Regions from separate parts of the Homo sapiens genome. Here region 2 is linked to region 1. The links are contacts of gene promoters, found by promoter capture Hi-C in blood cells and fetal thymus (Javierre and others, 2016). All regions are on one chromosome and are shown on one strand. The core of a region is centred on a gene start or on the middle of the fragment in contact, and the rest is flanking DNA. Distances in the headings are between cores, read along the strand shown. Region 1 holds the start of ARHGEF33 (Rho guanine nucleotide exchange factor 33). Region 2 holds the start of GALM (galactose mutarotase).

What was found. The method cuts DNA at HindIII sites, captures the fragments that hold promoters and counts their contacts. A CHiCAGO score of 5 or more calls a contact.
Region 2: a contact is called between the fragment with the promoter of GALM here and the fragment with the promoter of ARHGEF33 in region 1, in 3 of 17 cell types (naive B cells, monocytes and total B cells). The highest score is 7.9, in naive B cells.

What each region holds. Positions count from the first base shown.
Region 1 is chr2:38,887,213-38,894,116 of GRCh38, reverse strand. ARHGEF33 (Rho guanine nucleotide exchange factor 33) reads right to left here and starts at 4,242. Exons shown (of 18, transcript NM_001145451.5): 1 at 4,131-4,242. The HindIII fragment of the contact is 7,511 bases long and covers 586-6,904 here.
Region 2 is chr2:38,662,854-38,669,705 of GRCh38, reverse strand. GALM (galactose mutarotase) reads right to left here and starts at 3,592. Exons shown (of 7, transcript NM_138801.3): 1 at 3,355-3,592. The coding sequence starts at 3,544. RefSeq lists enhancers at 2,815-3,327, 3,328-3,840. The HindIII fragment of the contact is 7,089 bases long and covers 1-5,525 here.

The sequences.
Region 1 (6,904 bases), core at 2,993-5,492:
GAATTCCTGGGCTGAAATGATCCCAGTGTCTCGGCCTCCTAAAGTGTTGGGATCAAAAGAGTGAGCCAGCCTGGCAAGAACGATTTTTAATTCTGGAAAGTTTTCTTATATTTCCTTGGAGCCTATGTGTGCTTTCTGCTTATTAACAACAGTCTTCAGTCTTCAGTCTTCAGACTTTAGAAGTCTTCACTCCAGCCCTTGTTTGTGCCCTATCTCCCTTGAATTGCCTACATTTTAGATACTACTCACTCATTTGAGCTCTTCAGATAGAAACCTGGAAAATGAGGTAACTCACTTGGGAAAAAAAGAAAGAAAGTTTGGCTAAAATTAAGTTTTTAGGGGTTTAAACAGAGTTCACGTGCATTCAACAAGTATTTAATAAGCATATACCACATAAAAGGCATTGTACCAGGTGCTAGGAGAAATGAAAGGATGCCATTGTTTCTGCTTCCAGTCTAGAAGGGAAGATGAGACACATAAATAACTGTAACATATAATGGATTGTGACAAATGAAAAAGAAAAGTGTAAAGTGCCTAAAATTTTCAGAGAAAAGATGAATTCCCTTGTGGGGATTAGAGAAAGCTTCATTAAGAAGATAGGATTTGAGCCAGGCTTTGCATGATATGTAGAAACGGTCAAAAGGGGATCACCAGAGGGGCCAGGCACAGTGGTTCACACCTGTAATTCCAGCATTTTGGGAGGCTGAGGCAGGTAAATCGCTTGAGCTCAGGAGTTCGAGATCAGCCTGGCCAACATAGTGAAACTCTGTCTCTACTAAAAGTACAAAAATTAGCCCATGGTGGCGGGTGCCTGTAATCCCAGCTACTCAGGAGGCTGAGGCAGGAGAATTGCTTGAACCCAGGAGGCAGAGGTTGCAGTGAGCCAAGACTGTGCCACTGCACTCCACCCTGGCAACAGGGTGAGACCTTGTCTCAAAAAAAGAAAAAAAAAAAAAAAAGGATTACCAGAGGAACAAAGCACAAGGCCTAGGTGGATTTAGGAACCCTAGGGAGCAAAGAAGGTAGAGTAGAAGGTGAGGCTAGACAGGTAGATTGGGGGCAGATAGAGAGCCTTGAATCTCTTCTTTGGAGCTTGCTCTGCAGTGGAGAGAATGAGTCATTGAAAATGTTTAAGCAGAGGTATAACAAGATCACATATCTCTGGTAAGAAGATGACTTAGTGGCACTGTAGAGGAAAGAGCAGCTGCAAAGAGGCCAGTGAGCAGGCACCTTTAATAACTCAAGTAAAAGATAATGATGACCTGAATTAGGGAAGTGACTCTTAGAAAGGAAAGGAGGGCACAGATAGAAGCGACATTTCAAAGGTTGCTCCATGAGCCAAATGTATGCTTCACCCAAGAAAAAGAGTTGGATAGTCACTCTCAGATTCAGAAGGAGGAAATATGTCATAAGATAATTTTTAAAATTACTCTAACTTATTTGAACCAGGAGACTAAAAGGAGGCTGAATATGCTATAATAATGAACTTGGTTCTACAATTTTAGCAGAGCCTTAACTTTTGTTTTTGTCAATTGGGGGTGCACTGACTAACTCTGCTAGGAGATGGGGAAAGCACATTTTAAAATGTCTCAAAAAAGAAATACAACCATCCTTTCTTTCCCATTGTTCATCCTTTGCCCGGGTGTTATGGTACTTAGCAGATGTCAGTTAGGTTTTTCTACTTTTCCCCAGTTATCTGTTTACCCACCTTTAGGCATCATCTCTACCCACCCCACCTACTCACACACTCCATAAAAAACCCAGTGAAAATTACGAGGAGGAGATTTTTTTAGAGAGCATAAGAATTTTCCAGTATTTGCTTCTTCATTGCTTGCTAAAACCATGCCAGCATAGCCTGGGGAAAGGTGGAAAGGGCTGGCATTGCCCCATATAAGGGAATTATATCCTCAAATCATTTGAGATAAGTAGGCCCCAAAGACAAATCCAAAACAGCTACTCCCTCATTCTCAGGAAATAAATTCTAGAGATTTCCTCAAATGGATAAATTTGAGAATCCGATTAGCTGCCACTTTTTCTTTATTTTTCTGATTATTTTAGGAAGACTCAAACAGATGTTAATACTTACTACCCTGTCTTTTTGTCAGTAAAGGCATGAACAGACAACAAAATAATCATGAACATACCAATCAGAAGAGTGCTCTCTGTAATATTAGCATTTATGATTTGTTTCGTTCATCTTATTTGGGGCATTCAAAGTGCTTTACAAATAACATAATGAGGGTTTTTTTTCCTTCCATGACTCCCAAGGTGATTCCTGGCACTCTCAAAAGGCACAAGTGATTAGTCAAGTCCTTGGGGCCCAGCAGCAGTAATGTGATGCATGTTGGTTAAACTGTGTTTCACACTCATGTAAATTGTGTGGGGGGCGGGTGGGGAATCTTCCACACTGTCCTTGAGAAGATTAGCAAGAATTATGAATTTAAAGATTCTTACATTTATAAAAATCCAAACAAAGAGAAATATTGAACAAATCATACTCCAGTCCTAAAATCAAAGTCTAAGGGTCTTAACCTGTGGTCCCAGGAATAGGGTTTCAGGTCACCTGTAAATCTTCTGAAATTGTATGCAAAATTTTGTGTGATTTTACTTTTTTTTTTGCAGAAATGGTGGACTGGTTTCTGAAGATTCTAAAAGCAATTCTTGACACCGAAAAGGTTAAGAACTGCTGTCATTAAAGAAAAAGAAAGGAAGGAAGAGGGAGAGAGGAAGGGAGGAAAGGAGAGAGGAAGGGAAGGAGGAAGATCAGTTGATCTTTGTATCTACATTACTTAGTTTATTACTGGCCTGCTATGTTGAAGTACACCCTTATACACAGAGAAAAGGGAAGGTAAATAAAGGGAATTAAGAAAAAGTTAACAATAAGGCCGAGCATGGTGGCTCACACCTGTAATCCCAGCACTTTGGGAGGCTGAAGTGGGAGGACTGCTTGAGATCAGGAGTTCAAGACCAACCTGAGCAACATGACGAAACCCCATCTCTACAAAAAATACAAAAATTAGCCGGGTGTGGTGGTGTGCACCTGTGGTCTCAGTTACCTGTGGGGGCTGAGGTGGGAGGATTGCTTGAGCCCAGGTGACAAAGTGAGACCTTGTCTAAAAAAAGAAAAGAAAAAAGAAAAAAAAAAAAACCAATAGTATGGTCATCTTGTTTCAAAAGCCTCTGAGTTTTCAAATGAGTTTAGATTGCATTTCCAGAGCCCATGGTTATGAAAAATGTAGACATTAATTAATTCAGTTTGTGAAAAATGTTTAGAATAAATGTGCATCAAAAACTTTTTTCTCTAGGATACATTTCTGATCATTATGTTGAATCCTTCAGAAGTAGCCTTCAATGAAATAGCTATTCCATTTACAGCAATATGATTTTGTATTAAAAGGGGCTATTAAAAATATAAAAGGGTGATATAGAGATTTCTACATATTCAGAATACTATTTCAGCATATAAAAACTCACATAATTCCAATACTAATTATAATAGAACGCTATTCTCACTTAAGACAATGTTTAAGTGAAACTCAGTTCTTCTCATTACACACCAAAGCCCCATGAAGTGTTTAGAATTAGGTTTCACCAATAAAGCCCCCATGTAATTAATCAGTACACATTTTCAATCAGGATATGTTTTTTGTTCTGTACATAGGGGAGTGAATGCTGAAGATTCCCCTATTCTTTTTCTGTGTTAGAAAGGAATAAACCAATCTCCCTCCATCCCTAATCTTTTTCATTCTTTAATTATTCTTAATCCCAAAGAGGCATGTCCATGTCAGATTTACGCTGTCTAGCATCCTTTCTTTAAGACTGCTCTCAAAATTTAACTCATCTTCAACTATATTTATTAATATGCAGAACAACTTCAGTCTCCAGTTTATCGATAACCTGCAAAGCGCAGTTAAGACATAATATAAAAATTAAGCAAGGAAATAAATGTTTTACAAATTGTTATAACTCTTAAATAAAAGTTATTTCTTTGAATGCCTACCTCAAATAAATGTTAGCATATATTGGATTTAAATTAGTACACCACGTGGTAAGGATTGATGGGTTTTCATCTCTTATAAAATTGTTTCCCCTTTCAGTGCCCCTTAAAGCATATAAAAGCGCATACTTACCCCATGTTGCCTGCGGTGGTTATATCATCCTCAGATCAAGGCTTATCTGGGTTCTGAATTAACTTAAAGGTTATAAAAAGAAGCAGTAGAGAGGCTTGACTTCCCCTGAAACGAGACCGTAGTATGCTAACCAGGCTTTTAAATGAGGAAAACTAGTGTCTCTTCTAATTATATAAGCTCCAGGTCAAATTCTAGCATCAACTAATCAAATAACTGAACTGCATTTAGTTTCAATGAGTAAAAAGGAAGAAACCCATTTAGGAGGAATATCTTTGGTATACTAGAAAATTGAAAAGTTGTACTTTGAAAAGTTATTAACATAGCAATACAAGTTAAATATTTTAAGAGTAAAATATATATCTTGCTGCCTTAAATAAATTGAAAAAAATTAGGGAAAATTTATTTTGCAGCAAAGCAGATACTTTTCTATATTTTCCAGAAGTTTTTGAATTTAAATTATATGTCCTGGTCCCTGAAAACATCTTCTCACCTTATCTTAACTTGTCCAGTATTTGTCTCTTCATGAATTTCCATATAATAATAATATTTAATTCTAAAGCCATGCCAGCTAATGTTTAGCAACATATACAAAAATGTCCAATTCTTAAAATGTGTCTTTGAAAACTTACAAATAGGGTCTTTCAAAATTAGCCATAAAGCTATTATTATGAGAAACTAACAAAAATGCCATTTTTATTTTAACATTTTAGAAGACATTGTAACCCAAATTTGTGCCAGTACAGCAAAAAATAAAAATATACATCTTTTGGCAATAACATATTGAGAAATACAAATATTCACAAGATTTTGAATAGAGAAATATGACAAAGAAGTTATCTATTGTGTACACTATTTTTTGTCAGTTTTAGAATATAGAGTTTCAGCAAAAACATTCAGGTCTTTATTGTAATTTTTTAAATGTAGTTGACATATACTGCTCTGGTAATTTTTAAATTATCTTATGTAAAAAGTAAAGAAGTTTTCTGGACATAGAATATATGACAACACACAGATCTACTTTTTAAGAAATTGAGACATAATTTACACATCATACATAAAATTTGTCCCTGTTAAATGAACAATTCAGTGGTTTTTAGTACATTTTCAAGACTGTGCAACCATCACCACTGTCTAATTCTAGAAACCTCATGCCTCCCAATTTCTTCCTCCCCTGGCAACCACTAATCTATTTTCTGTCCCTAAGGATTTGCCTATTCAGAGCATTTCACATAAATGGAATCATATAATATGTGGCCGTTTGTGACTGGTTCCTTTCACTTAGTACAATGTTTGTTTGTTTGTTGTTTTTGAGATGAAGTTTTGCTCTGTCACCCATCCTGGAGTGCAGTGGCATGATCTTGGTTCACTGCAACCTCTGCCTCCTGGGCTCAAGCAGTCCTCCCAAGTAGCTGGGACTATAGGCATGTGCCACCACACCTGGCTAATTTTTGTATTTTTTGTAGAGATGGGATTTTGCCATGCTGCCCAGCCTGGTCTCAAACTCCTGGCAAGCGATCCACACACCTTGGCATCCCAAAGTGCTGGGATTACAGGATGAGCCACCTGCCTGGCCAGTACAATGTTTCTGAAGTTCATCCATGTTGTAGTATCAGTACTTCATTTTTTATGGCTGAATAATATTCCATTATGTGGACATTTTGTTTACACATTCATTAGTTGATGGACATTTGGATTGTTTCCAGTTGGGGCTATTATACATGTCTTAGTCCATTTGAACTGCTATAAGAAAATACCTTAGACAGGGTAATTTTAAACAACAGAAATGTATTGCTCACAGTTCTGGAGGCTGTTAAGTCCAAGATCAAGGCACTAGCAGATTTAGTGTCTGGTAAGGACTTGCTCTCTTCTTCAAAGATGGCACCTTCTTGCATCATTCTCTTGTGACAGAAGAAGCAAGCAATCTCCTTCACATCTCTTTTATAAGGGCACTAATCCCATCCATGAGGGCTCTGTCCTTATAACCTAATCACCTCCTAAAGGCCTCAACTCTTAATACTACCACAGTAGAGATTAGGTTTTTGTTGTTGTTGTTGTTGTTTTTAGACAGAGTCTCACTCTGTTGCCCCTGCTGGAGTGCAGTGGCGCCATCTTGGCTCACTGCAGACTCCACCTCCCAGTTTCAAGCAATTCTTGTGCCTCAGCCTCCCGAGTAGCTGGGATTACAGGCACACACCACCACGCCTGGCTAATTTTTGTATTTTTAGTGGAGAGGAGGTTTCACCATGTTGGCCAGGCTGGTCTCAAACTCCTGACCTTAAATGATGCACCCACCTTGGCCTCCCAAAGTATTGGGATTACAGTCGTGAGGAAATTAGGTTTAAACATGAATTTTGGAAGGACACATTCAGACTATAGCAATGAATAATGTTGCTATGAACATTCGTGTGCAAGTCAATTCCCTTGCGTACATACCTAGGAACTGCTGAGTCACGTAGTAACTCTATGTCTAATATTTTGAGGAAATGTATTCCACAGCAGCTGCACCATTTTATATTCCCACCAGAAATGTGTGAGGCCTCCAATTTCCCCACATCATTGCCAATCTTTGTATTGTCTGTTTTTTTTTTTTGATATAGCCATCCCACCAAACAATGCATGTTCTCACTTATAAGTGGGAGCTGAACAATGAGAACACATGGACACAGGAGGAGAACAACACACATGTTGTGGAAGTGGGGGAAGAGAGAGCATCAGGAAAAATAGCTAATGCTTGCTGGGCTTAATACCTAGGTTATGGGTTAATAAGTGCAGCA
Region 2 (6,852 bases), core at 2,343-4,842, 220 kb after region 1:
AGATGGGTTTCACCATGTCGGCCAGGATGGTCACTGTCTCTTGACCTTGTGATCCACCCACCCAGAGTGCTGGGATTACAGGCGTGAGCCACCGTGCCCGGCAAAAAACATTTTTAAATACAAAAAAAGGTTGAAAAACTCATAGGAGGCATTACTGATTTTTCTAGGCTGTTGTAGCAGGACGAGCCGCAGACAAAACTCCTTAGACACCGGATTGAAGAAGGCAGACTTGCGTCTCAAAAGCCGAGCTCACCGCGTGAGCAATTCCCGTCCCTTTTAAGGGCTTACGACTCTAAGGGGGTCTGCGTGAGAGGGTCGTGATCGATTGAGCAAGCCAGGGGTACCTGACTGGGGGCTGCATGCACCGGTAATCAGAACAGAACACAACAGGACAGGGATTTTCACACTGCTTTTCTATAAAATGTCTGGAATCTATAGATAACATAACTGGTTAGGTCAGGGGTCGATCTTTAACTACCAGGCCCATGGCGTAGTGCCGGGCTGTCTGCCTGTGGATTTCGTTTCTGCCTTTTAGTTTTTACTTCTTTCTTTGGAGGCAGAAATTGGGCATAAGGCAATATGAGGGGTGGTCTCCTCTCTTACTGTAACTAAAAATTTATATAATTTTCTTCTTTAGAATTCTATGAAAGAAAAAAATCCCATTTTCCCAGGGAGAAACTGAACCATTCTGACCTCTGGTTATGGCTGTCATCCAAACAGTTTATATAACCTGTCTGGGAAATTGAAGATTGTTCATATCTAACTCTGCAGTTACAAAAGGACCATGTCTCATGGAATTATCCACGCTCAGATCTTCCGCATGGCTCAAAACCATTTTTGGGATATGGTAATGTCAAGATAACCCCTTATTCTGTCAAGTATTTAAAAAAATTTTTTTTAAATTTAAATTTATTTATTTATTTATTTATTTTTATTTATTTTAGAGACAGGGTCTCACTATGTTGCTCAGGCTGGTCTCAAACTCCTGGCCTCAAGCGATCCTCCCACTTTGGACTCCTAGGATTACAGGTGTGAGCCACCATGCCGGCCTCTGTCAAGTCTTATTACTTTAAATTATTTACCTCTGTTTGTTTATATATACTTACATACTCTGATGGTTTAAAAGAATATGCAGTGAAAATTAAGTCTCCTTCCCATCCTCTGCACCCTGGGCACCCAGGATCCTTTCTTAACAACCACTGTTACCAGTTTATTGTTAACATAGGTTTTAATGCACTAGAAATGTAGTATCAGAGCACCATCAAAATAGTAACAGAGTGTTGTATATCTCCCCTGTAAGAGTCACAGCCCACACCTCTACAACAAACACAGGGTAACAAGAGAAAAGCAAAACAGCTGGGCACAGTGGCTCATGTCTGTAATCCCAGCACTTTGGGAGGCTGAAGTGGGAGGATTGCTTGAGGCCAGTAGTTCGAGGCTGCAAGTCAGCTATAATTGCACTACTCCACTCTAGCCTGGGTGACAGAGCGAGACTCCACCTCTAAAAAATAAAAAATACATAAAAAAGCCAAACAAATTTATTTGATTATAGTTTTATGTGACACGGGAGCTTTCAGAATGAAGACCGACAGATACAAGGAAAACAATCCATTTCTATGCTTAGGTCCAATGGAACATGGACAGCCATGTAGAAATATGATTGGACCAAAAGGGTAAGATCTGTTGCTAATAGAGTGAGTGGGGAAACTCGGCAAGGCCTGTGTTCAGATTTTTCTTGGCCTCCCCATGCAGCATTTCTTCCTCCGGGTATGGGGCAGGACCCCTCTGGAATGAGGGTCTTAATTTCTTTATGGTCAGCTGTTACACAGAAAGGCAGAGGGAAAGGTTAGAGTATATTTTTATTTTTTTGAGATGGGGTCTCACTCTGTCGCCCAGGCTGGAGTGCAGTGGCGCAATCTCGGCTCACTGCAACTTCCGCCTCCCAGATTCAAGTGATTCTCCTGCCTCAGCCTCCCAAGTAGCTGGGATTACAGGTGCCCGCCAGCAGCCTGGCCAACATGGTGAAACCCCATCTCTACCAAAAACACAAAAAAATTAGCCGGGCATGGTGGTGTTCAACAGAAAGCTGAGTTTTGTTTTTTTCCCTGAGGAATTGAAATTTGCTCTCTGTTTTTTAAGATAGAGTTTCGCTCTGCCACCCACGCTGGAGTGCAGTGGCGCAATCTTGGCTCACTGCAACCTCCGCCTCCTGGGTTCAAGCTATTCTCCTGCCTCAGCCTCCTGACTAGCTGGGATTACAGGCACGTGCCACCATGCTCAGCTAATTTTTTTGTATTTTTAGTAGAGACAGGGTTTCACCATGCTGGCCAGGCTGGTCTGGCCAACATGTAACCATGAGCCAAGTTACATATCTTACGTATCGGAAGAACCAAACAGACAGAATGACACACCAAAAGGAAAACCTCAAACCTCCTCTCCAGCAGAATTTGTCTACGCCCCAACCACTGAGCAGAGAGTATTAACTCTCAGTTTCCCTTTGCCAGCTTTATTTCACACCTCATTTTCTGTCTAGTTACACCATGGTGCTAAGAGAGCATGATGTACATTTTCCTTTGCTGCAATCAAGCTGCAATTGTCATTCTTTATTTATGCAATTACTGAGTTAAAGTCTATCTCCCCAGCCAAACCGCAAGAGTGGGGACCTTGTCTGTCCTGTTTAATGAGGTCATCGGATTAATAGAGTTGTCAAATGTATTAATTAATGCCTGATCCTAATTGCCCATGGATTCTGGGATAAAAGTCCATCCTAGTTGGTAGGAGACCTGATCTCTGAGAAGACACTGAGTTGGTCTTCTCTATTTTGTTCCTAAATGGTTATTGGGTAGCTGGTGTACTAGGCAACCACTGAGCTTAGTGGAGCATTTCTGAGACAACCAGGCCTCAAAGAGAATCTGATCAAGGAAGAAGGAAGTAGAAGAGGCAAGTATTTGAATTTCCTTCTTCAGAAGGGAAGAAGTGGGAGCCACACCCCCTCTTGCCTGCTCTTTCCTCTCCAGCCTTCTCCAGGTATCAGGCAGTTCAAAGATTAGGCAGTTCAAAGATCGCTCCAGGATCGCTGAAGTGTATCATACCATCAGCTGACCTTTTACGTTAACTGGGGCAAAGCCTGAACGGATAACCAGAGGCCAACTGCCATAGTTTATTTATTACAGTTTTTCCCAAATGCTGGATGGCCACACGGCCCTCTATGATGCATGCGCTTGCAAGTCAGACGGTCCCAAGCTAGGCGACTTTCCCCCTTGGTCCCTCGCATTGCAAGTGGCCCGCTAGATCCGGGAGGTATGTAGCGTGGGCCTGGGGCCTGCTCGCAGCCCAGGGCACAGTTCAACCCACCTTCCAACTCGGCGAAGCCAAGCACCACGTCCGAGGCTCTCCCCTGCCTGTCTTTGACCTCTAGGGCTGTGATCGTGCAGCCCCAGGAGATGATGTCCACTCTCAAGAGGTCTGACTGCAGCTGGAACTTCTCCACTGTCCCTCCTCCCGAGGGCAGCTCTCCAAACACGGCCCTGGTCACCGAAGCCATAGGGAAAGTTTGGCGTGTGCAGCCACTGCCCGCTCTTCAAACTCCAGCGCTCGCTAAGCTAGAGGCGACCCAAGTTTACAGGAGAAGGGGCGTGACTCGGCTCAGACTCCTCCCTTTCCCTGCCTGGATTTAGGGAGTGACCGTTCCTGCAAAAAATAGCCCCTGGGGCCTTTCTAAATCAATCATTTGCCTGAGGGTAACAAGAGGGGCAAACTTTGCAGCCACACTTGTACTTTTTTTCCTTGGCTCGTCCTGGTTGCATTGCATGTTGGGAATGGTAGTTTTTGGGAGGTGAAATTGCATTTTGGGGCTTGTAGTCTTTCTAAACTCGAATCCTGGGTTGACGGGGTTCTACCCCCATCTCCCCACACCTCAACATGTAATGAGCTGGTCATTAATGTCGGTGGCTATCAGACGAAGAATGGGAAAATACAGATAGCAGACTTACAGTGAGACCGATCTTGGGAAAAAATTAGATTTTAACTCTTTGATACAGGGGGTAAGAAGTACAGCAGTAGTTGGCCGGCTCGGTGGCTCACGCCTGTAATCCCAGCACTTTGGGAGACCGAGGCAGGCGGATCACGAGGTCAGGAGATTGAGACCTTCCTGGCTAACACGGTGAAACCCCGCCTCTACTAAAAATACAAAAAAAAAAAAAAAAAAAAAAAAAAAAAAAAATTAGCTGGGAGTGGTGGTGGGGGCCTGTAGTCCCAGCTACTCGGGAGGCTGAGGCAGGAGAATGGCGTGAACCCGTGAGGCGGAGCTTGCAGTGAGCCGAGATCACGCCACTGCACTCCAGCCTGAGTGACAGAGCGAGACTCCGTCTCAAAACAACAACAACAACAACAACAAAGTACAGTAGTAGCTTAGAAATGAGGTAAATCATCTCAGGCTTCTCTGCACACAGACTTACTGAAGATTCACTCTTTTTGTCCCACGGATGAAGTCCTGGACATGGTTCTGTTAGAGCCACTGCCCAGAAGGCTCTCCTGACGGCCAAAGCTGTGCCAGCCTCGAGGAGCTTGGACCAGACAGGGTCAGGTAGATGGATTAGGCCCTCGGTGTGCGGAGGTGATTAGAGACAGCCTCAGACTTATTTTACTTCAAGGGACTGGAAAGGGACCTCTGGTGTCTTCTGGCTCCTGAAGTCCACAGTTCCTTTAAGAAGGGATTCAGGGAACAAGTATTGATTGAGGTCCTTGTAAATGCCAGGTACTGAACCTTTGTTATCTCCTTTTCTACAAGTAGGATGGAGTCTTCAGGTATGTACAGTTGGAGAGGAAAGACACTAAGGTTATTAAATAATTGTCTTGCTTGATTGTGTCTCAGAATTTGCTGAGGACATTTAAAATGCATATTCCCAGTCCCCACCTCTGGAATTTCTAATTCTGGAAGTCTAGGGTGAAACTCAGGAATCTGCATTTTTCATGTTCCCAAGTTATTCTTCTGCAGATTATCTGGGACCAGATTTAGAGAAATATTGCTCTAAGGCTTGATGAGTAATCTGAATTTTTTTCCCCAAAAAAATAGGCTCTGATGGCAGAAGGATTAAGATAAAGCTATTAAGGGCCTTAATGAGATAACATACAGGCACCTATGTACTTCCTTGCTAAGTCTGGCAACTTTAGAGGAGTACTGAGCCTAGGAAGTGGGAGGATGCTGGGAGCCTAAAGACAAGTTTTACTCAAGCCATCTGCATAATCATCTATCTTTTCTTGATACTGCTCTTGGCTTGGTTCCTGGGTACTTCAGAGGGTATCCAACTAGACTGGGGTGAGTGCAGAAATGAAATGCATCTTTGATTAGGAAATTATGAGAATTGGGATTATGTGCCTGGAATCAGATGCTAATAAAACATAATAACTATCTCTCAGCTTCTTCTGTCTGTAATTTAAGGTATATTTAGCATTCTTGCCATAAAGCCTCAATTCTCCATCATGAAGCAGAAGAATTCTGATAGCAAAGGAAAAATAAAAAAGCTTGCAACAGGCTTCAGTGAAGCTCAACGTATAATAATAAAAAGACCCAAACAAGTCAAATTATAGACTGCATCACACTCATACAATAACCGACAGGCACTCCTATGTGCTGCTTCATCAGAAATTCTCATAAACTCTCAGTTTCATCAGCCACTTAACTTTGTGGTGATTCACACGCAAGCCCTTTGGCAATGCTGTGTTAGCAAGGATGTCTTAGAAAAGTGAGCAGGAAGACCACTTTTTTTTTTCTCAACCTCCAGTTCTCAGTGTTCTGCCAAGCACATGCTGTTACAGAAGGAAATAAATGTATTTGCCTGCCCAATGCTAAATGTCTCTACGGAAGCTCTTTTTACTCCATTTGGTAGAAAATGAATGTACCATGATGTCTCCCTAAAATGTAAAGAGGCCTGGGCGCGGTGGCTCATGCCTGTAATCCCAGCACTTTGGGAGGCAGAAGCGGGTGGATCACCTGAGGTCAGGAGTTCGAGACCAGCTTGATCAATATGGTGAAACGCCATCTCTACTAAAAATAAAAATAAAAAAAAACTAGCCAGGCATGGTGGTATGTGCCTGTAGTCCCAGCTACTCTGGAGGCTGAGACAGGAGAGTTGCTTGAACCAGGGAGGCGGAAGTTGCAGTGAGCTGACGTTGCACCACTGCCTCCAGCCTGGGTGACAGAGTGAGACTCTGTCTCAAAAAAAAAAATGTAAGGAGTACACTTCTTGATTTCATTTTCCTTTGAAGGGTTTAACTAACATATTGTCGCAAATAGCATTACCTTGTGCTTGAATCAACTGTCAGGCACAAACCTTGATTTTTCTCACCCTAATATCCTATTTTTATCCCACAGTGAAACTCTAAAGGAATATCTGTGCACTTAAAAACAAACAAACAAAACCCCTAAATCTAGGGGCAATTCTCCATCTGCAGGGAAGTCAGATGCAAGGTAGTAATCTAGAAAATGAAGCACTGTCAAATTTCAGGAGGTATTTATTTTTATTTTGGGGTAAGGGCCTGAGGATGAGATTATAAGGTAAAGGGAAAAGGGATTATGGCATTTATGTAAAAGGAAAATTACTGGCCAGGCGCGGTGGCTCATGCCTGTAATCCCAGCACTTTGGGAGGCCGAGGCAGGCGGATCACAAGGTCAGAAGATTGAGACCATCTTGGCTAACATGGTGAAACCCCGTCTCTACTAAAAATACAAAAAATTAGCTGGGCATGGTGGCGGGCACCTGTAGTCCCAGCTACTCGGGAGGCTGAGGCAGGAGAATGGTGTGAACCTGGGAGGCGGAGCTTCCAGTGAGCCAAGATCACACCACTGCATTC